2 separate regions of the Homo sapiens genome follow, and region 1 is linked to region 2. The links are contacts of gene promoters, found by promoter capture Hi-C in human tissues and cell types (Jung and others, 2019). All regions are on one chromosome and are shown on one strand. Each heading gives the region's core, a stretch centred on a gene start or on the middle of the fragment in contact. The rest is flanking DNA. Distances are from core to core; before and after follow the strand shown.

Region 1 (3,306 bases), core at 793-3,292, 790 kb after region 2:
TCTGTCTTCTTTCTATGGATGCAATCCTCTAGATGGGGAATGCACACATGTCCTGCCGCTGATGTGGGTCCCTGTTCCCAGAAACCGGTCTGGGTCGCATCCCGTTTCTCCAGCCTCAGCCGCCTCCGCGGAGCTCTATTGCTCCTGGCTTTCTGGCCTTCTGACCTGGTGCTCTTCCTCAGCTCTCTTGCCACCATCTCCTGTGTTCTCACAGTTTTGTTTGGGCATGTTTTATGGTGTTCTTATCGTCCTAAAACCTGGATTTCACAGAGGGGACCTGTGTGCTAACACTGTTCCTCATTCTGAGGGCTAGGCTGGCCAAGCCATTTCTTCCTACTCTGAGAAAGAAAGATGAGAAATTTTGATTATTTTCCCTTTCACACATAAACCATCATGTGTCAAGTCCTGAAATTGAGGTTGGAATGGATACAAAGATGGATGAGATGGGTCCCTACAATGGGGATGTGCAAAGGAGTGGGGTGCAGGTAGGGTGTGTAAGGGCAGCAGCTCTCACAGCCACTGGAGAGTCCCTGGGCTGAGAGCGATGGCTGCAAGCTTGGGAGCCAGGCTTTGCTGTTGCAGAAGGCCAAGAAAATAATAAAGTCTTTTGAAATTGAGTAATGTGGCGTTTCAGCTCCCGACTGTTAGAATGAAAATAGCGATTCTGCCACACCCACTTTGCACCCCTCACCCCTCATTTCTGCACTTGTAGCCTGAGTGATCTTTTCAAACCAAATCTGGAGGTTCCTCAAAGACTTCTCTTTAGCCCAAGAGAGCCAATTCCTTATGAAGGAGTTGATAGTCCTGGAGGCCAGGCTCCAGGGGACCTCTGCTCCTGGTTCATGCCATGTCCTGCCTCACTATTTTCATTCTAGTGTATTTTTTCTTGTTATTTCTGGTCATAGGCCCTTTGAACGTTCCCTTCCCTCTTCCTGGAATTCTCTTTTGCTTTTCACCCAGTCGGTCCTATTTATCCTTCAGACTTTGACTCAAATGCCATTTCCATAGAGAACTTTCCCAGACCTGCTAACCACTGCCACTCCCACCTCTGCCAGGAGCTAGAGCCTTGCCCTTCTTCCTGCTTTTTGCCACAGTTAAAATGTGGCATTTGTCTGTGTGATTGGTTGATTATGTCATTTTTTCTGAGGTCAGGGGGCCCGTATGCTTGTGCATTCTATCCCCAGTGCCTGGAATTTAATAGAGCTCAGGGACTATTTGTTGGATAATCTATCTGTAAAGTTTCTTTTTTATTGTATTATAATTATTAAACAAAATGATTCATTTTTTTTTCATTACTAGTTGTAGTAGGCTGAATAATGTCCAAACAAAGATCAGATTCTAATCCCTGGAACCCAAAAATATACTTTGCATGGTAGAGTCTTTACAGATGAGATTAGTTTAAAGATTTGAGATAGGGAAATTGTCCTGGGCCCTAAATGCAATCACATAAATCTTTACAAAAGGGAGGCAGAGGAAGATTTGATAGGAACACACACAGAGGAGAAGGCAGTGTAAAGACGGGAGCAGAGGGATATGAAGATGCTGACCCTCAGGGTTACAGTGATGTGGCCACAAGCCAAAGAATGCCCATAGCCAGCGGAAGCTGGGAGCACCAAAGACCAGATATCTTTTGAGAGCCTCTGGAGGAATCACAGCCTTCCTGATACCCTGATTTCAGCCTAGTGAGAGTCATTTTTGGACGTCTCACCTCCAGAATCATCAAAGAATCAATTTCTCTTGTTTGTTAAGCCACTAAATATATGGAAATGTGTTATAGAAAAAGGAAACAAATACACTGACCTTCAATGTTTTGAATCCTTAATGGATGGAAATAGGAAAAACAAAAATTGATATTTGAAATCTGCCCCAAATTTAGTCTTTGTCACTGTGAGAGATGAAGTAACACTCATCTTTTTCATTATTTCTTTTTAAAAAAAATCTCTTTGGAGATGCACCCTTGTCATGTAAATGCAATGAGGCATCAGCTTTTTGTCCTTGGGGTATCTACAGGAGCAGATGGAGTCATCCACATTTCAAAACTAAGATGATACTTTTTGATGTTGAAAATTTCTGTCCCAGGGGCCCTAGGGTATGGAAGCAGGGAGGGAAAGACACCTCTGCCAAATATGGTTTTAATGAGAGGAAACCATTGATGTCGCCTAGCATTAAGCTGTGAGATTTGGTTTGTGAATGTGGGACCAGAGTTGAAGATTAAAATCGCTAAACATTCTCTTGTTAACTGGGAGAGGGACCTCGTATTTGTGTTTTTTCTCCACTATGTGTCTCATAGGCATCTCAAACTGAAAATGTAAAACATAGATCTCTTGAATTCTAGCCTTCTTTCCTGACCATCCTCTGACTCCAACCCTAAACCTGCTCCTCCTGGAGTCTTGCCATCTGGTAAATGGCAATTGCATTCTTCTAGTGGCTCATGTGAAAGCTGCAGTCCGTCTTCACTGTTTTCCTTTTCCCGTCCTCTTCCTCAATCCTGAGCACGTCCTGCTAGATTTTCTGAATTCGGAGGTTTATCCAGTCCTGCCTCTTCTGCCCTCTCCCAAGCTGCTGTTACCTTTGTCTGGAGTGTTCCACAGCTTTCTACCTAACTGGCCTGCTTTTTTTGTTCTTATTCCCTATCGTCTGTTCTCCATGCTCAGCGAAAGCATTTCTGTGCAGGCTTCGTTGTTCCTGATTTAGTCGCTTCCTGGCTCACCTAAGGTCTTTAACATCCCTACTGTGGCCTAAAAGGTCTTCCTTGGTCCGGCCACCAGTGTCTCCCTGGCTTCACCTCCACACACACTCCCTTTTCCTTACCCTGTCTCCACTACTTCCTGATATGCCTGTGATACACCAAGGTGGCCTCCTGGCTTCCAGGCCTTAAAGCTCCCTCTGCTGGTGCCCATGCCAGGTGTCCTTGGGGCTCTCTTCTTAGATCTCTGTTCAAGGTCACCTTAAGGCAGAGGCCTTCTTCACCACCTGCATAAAATAGAGCTTCCAACCCCACATCATCACACCCTAGCACCTTTCTTGCCTTGTTTGTTCTTTATAAAGTAACTCACCTATTGGCATAATGGATATTTCCGTGTTGGAGAGTGGTAGCCTGTTTCAACCCCTCTAGAACATGTGTGCCATGATGGTGGGGCTTGATCTGGCATGTTCATTGTTGTTTCCCAAGTGCCTAGAACAGGGTCTGGTGCATAGTAGGCACTCTGTAAGCATTTGTCAAATAAATGAATGAATGAAAACAAAGGCCTACCGTTAAGTGGACTTGATCATATTTTCTCAGTGTTTGCTCTCTCTTTGGTCAGG
Region 2 (3,125 bases), core at 60-2,559:
TGTAGTGGCGCCATCTTGGCTTACTGTGATCTCCGCCTCCCAGGCTCAAGCAATTCTCCTGCCTCAGCCACCCAAGTGGCTGGAACCACGGGTGCGCACCACCAAACCCAGATATTTTTAAGGAATTTTTTAGTAGAGATAGGGTTTCACCATGTTGCCCAGGCTGGTCTCGAATTCCTGAGCTCAGGCTACTGGCCTTCCTTGGCCTCCCAAAGTTGTGGGATTACAGGCGTGAGCCACAGTGCCCAGCCAGGAGCTACATTTTCTAGATTTTTTGTTCACATCCTCTAACTTGCTTCTCATAAGGGGAAGCCAAAGATTAGAATAAACTTCCAGGCCCTAGAATTAGACCTCTTAAGAAATCATTTATGTCCATTAGATTATTTCTGTTCGGTTTTTATTCTTTCCTATCACCAAGGAGGTTAATGTCTTCAACTGTCTGAGGAACTACACAAAGTTTACACTCAGAAAGCCCCTCCGCATGTCTACCCTGAATCTTTCTCGCTGCAGTTTAAATCACAGATGCTTCTATGATTGCTTTAGTGGATGTGGATTGACCAAGTCATGGGGAATAAACTCCTGCTTTGTTTTCTTTTGAAGAAGGTTCTCCATCTTCAGACTATAGAGCTTCTTCTCAAATACCAGGTACTTTGTACCTTTCCATTGTATCATATACACATGGATGAATTTAGGAAATTGACTTCTAAAAAGTGAATGAAAAAGAGGAGTAACATAGATGTTCTGAAACAGAAGTGACAGGAGGAGAAAATAGAAAGTTATTTACTATTTTCAAAGCAACTAAGTAGAAAGGTTGATGAAAGAGAGAAAAAAAAGCTGTCACTGAATGATATTTCCATTGGAGGGGAAAATAGGTACCAACAAATGAAAATTGCCTCATCTTTACAAGTTTCACTGAGCATGAAAATGTCCCTTTAAAATTTCCCATAAGCCATGGCTGGCTATGGGATTTTTCCAGTGCAAAGGGAATCTGAGTTCAGGAGGCCAGGGAATGCCAGGGGGAAAGGGATTTTCTGATACTCAGAAGACTCAGAGACTGTCAGTTTAAAAAATGAAAGTAATATAGAAGGGGCAAAGTGGCATTTATCATTCTATCTCTCCAGGCTCCTGTCTCTTTAATCAGCTAGCCTGATTTGCCCAGTAAATGATTCCTGAGAGTGTGTGTGCGTGTGTGTGTGTGTGTGTGCCCGCGCGCGTGTGTTGTAGCTCTGTCAATCCTTGGATTAGAACCAATGATTGCAGCTTGTAGGAGGGCTGTCCAGGGCCAGATTGTACAATGTGTCTCAGTGCCAGAGTATGAGTGGAGATAATTACGGAGAAGTCATACTCTCTCACACCCTCGGCTTTCTTGTTGTGTCCTTCAGCAAAACAGTGGATTTAAATCTCCTTGCACAAGCTTGAGAGCAACACAATCTATCAGGAAAGAAAGAAAGAAAAAAACCGAACCTGACAAAAAAGAAGAAAAAGAAGAAGAAAAAAAATCATGAAAACCATCCAGCCAAAAATGCACAATTCTATCTCTTGGGCAATCTTCACGGGGCTGGCTGCTCTGTGTCTCTTCCAAGGTAAGAGCTTGCTATTGATTTGCCTTCGGTAGACCCAGGAATTGTACAGTGTGCTTTATAAGATTTGCAGACTCCCCGAGTCGGCTGTGCTGCGCTGTTTGCAGGTGGAGGAGAGAGCGTTTAGACAGCATGGCTGGGACTTCATTCTCCCGACTAGGCTGTGAGAATATTGATTTGATTCTGGCTGCTACCGGAATGGGGGAATATGTATGTGCATAAGTAAAATGTGTTTGGTGCTCCTGTTAGGACTGTGCTTGTGTGCAAGGCTCCCTGGCTTCATGCACATTCTTGCACACATACACAACGGAGCACACATGTAAGCAGGGGGAAATGACAGATTCGGAGGGCAACAGGGTTGCTAATGTGTTGCTTATGCGACTGGGAAGAAATTACAAGAGGAAACTTTAAATATCGGCCAGCGAACTTGCAAAGCTTTTAAAAGGAGCAAAGGGGAAAATGCAGGCTAGAAAGAATCAGGTGCTTCCTGTGAGGTTCTGGTCAGCGATCCAGCTGCAAGGGATGAGTCAATTTGCAGCAGTGGGGGACAACTGTATTAGTTTTAAATGTGTTCGGGGGTGTGTTTGTGGCTGGGGTCGGAGGTGTGGAAGCGAGGGGAGCCGGGGCTCTGAAATTCTAAAAAGCTTTTCGAAGTTGAAGGGAGAGAGGCAATAAGAGTCGAATGCTAATTTTCTGTTTATTTATCGGCTGAGCCGGGAGCCCTGGGGGCTGCAGTTGAGTGCAAGCTTTGATGTCCCCAGTGCTGTGTTCTGTGCATTTGGAATCGGCCTCCACCTTGAGTCCATTTGCTGCACCGTGCCTCCCCACACCCCATCCCGGCTCTCACGTCTGTTCGTTCCAGCAACAGAATTATCCACTAATCTTCTTGCTCCCACCTGCCCTGTCCTTTGGGGTAACTAGTTTGCCTCTTTTATATTAAACACAGCTAAAACTCGTAAGGATCGAGACAAGCTGAGAAACTTTCCCAGGGTGGCCCAGCAGGGCTCCGGGAGGAGGAGCCCTCTCTTGGGAGGTGAGGCTCAGTCCTATGCAGTTGTATTCCCAGAGGAAAGTTCCCTCTGACCCGGTGAAAAACGATGGGGAGTCCCACCCCCTCGCCCTCTTCTCCCCCTGCAATATGGAGTTCTCCTGATCTGGACTGAGTCCTGAGCTGTAGTCCTGCTGGCTCTTCTCCGAGGTTAGGATTTAGGGATTGCTGCTGTCCTCTTGACATAGGTTGCAGTGGCTGCAGTGTGGATCCACGTAAGGTGGGCAGAGAGACCAGGCTGGAAGGATCAAATGTGTACACCCTTGACTGGGGCTCGATGAAGAAGGCAAGGGGTGGGGACAGGAGGGATCTGTGTCGGGTGATAAGGAAGTCCAAGGTGGTGAATCTTGCAGGGATGTCCATGATGTCGTCTGCTGCACCCAACCCCAGGAGGCATGGGCCTCAGGATTCCCTGCTGTCCCCTAGGGGCTTTGGTGGGTGTTTGAGTGAAGGGAATCAACTTGGAGGCATCCTCGATTGACTCCTCTTATATAATA

Evidence for each region. Contacts are between HindIII fragments. The study calls those that stand out against the background at their distance.
Region 1: a contact is called between a fragment that was not itself captured here and the fragment with the promoter of NTM in region 2, in 1 of the 25 tissues and cell types used here (dorsolateral prefrontal cortex).

The regions. Positions count from the first base shown.
Region 1 is chr11:132,155,408-132,158,713 of GRCh38, forward strand. The region is part of intron 3 of NTM (neurotrimin); the gene reads left to right. Among named protein-coding and RNA genes, the nearest start is that of NTM-IT, 130 kb to the right of the region's middle. The HindIII fragment of the contact is 4,902 bases long and covers 1-3,306 here.
Region 2 is chr11:131,369,306-131,372,430 of GRCh38, forward strand. NTM (neurotrimin) reads left to right here and starts at 1,310. Exons shown (of 9, transcript NM_001352005.2): 1 at 1,310-1,583. The coding sequence starts at 1,502. The HindIII fragment of the contact is 4,341 bases long and covers 1-1,714 here.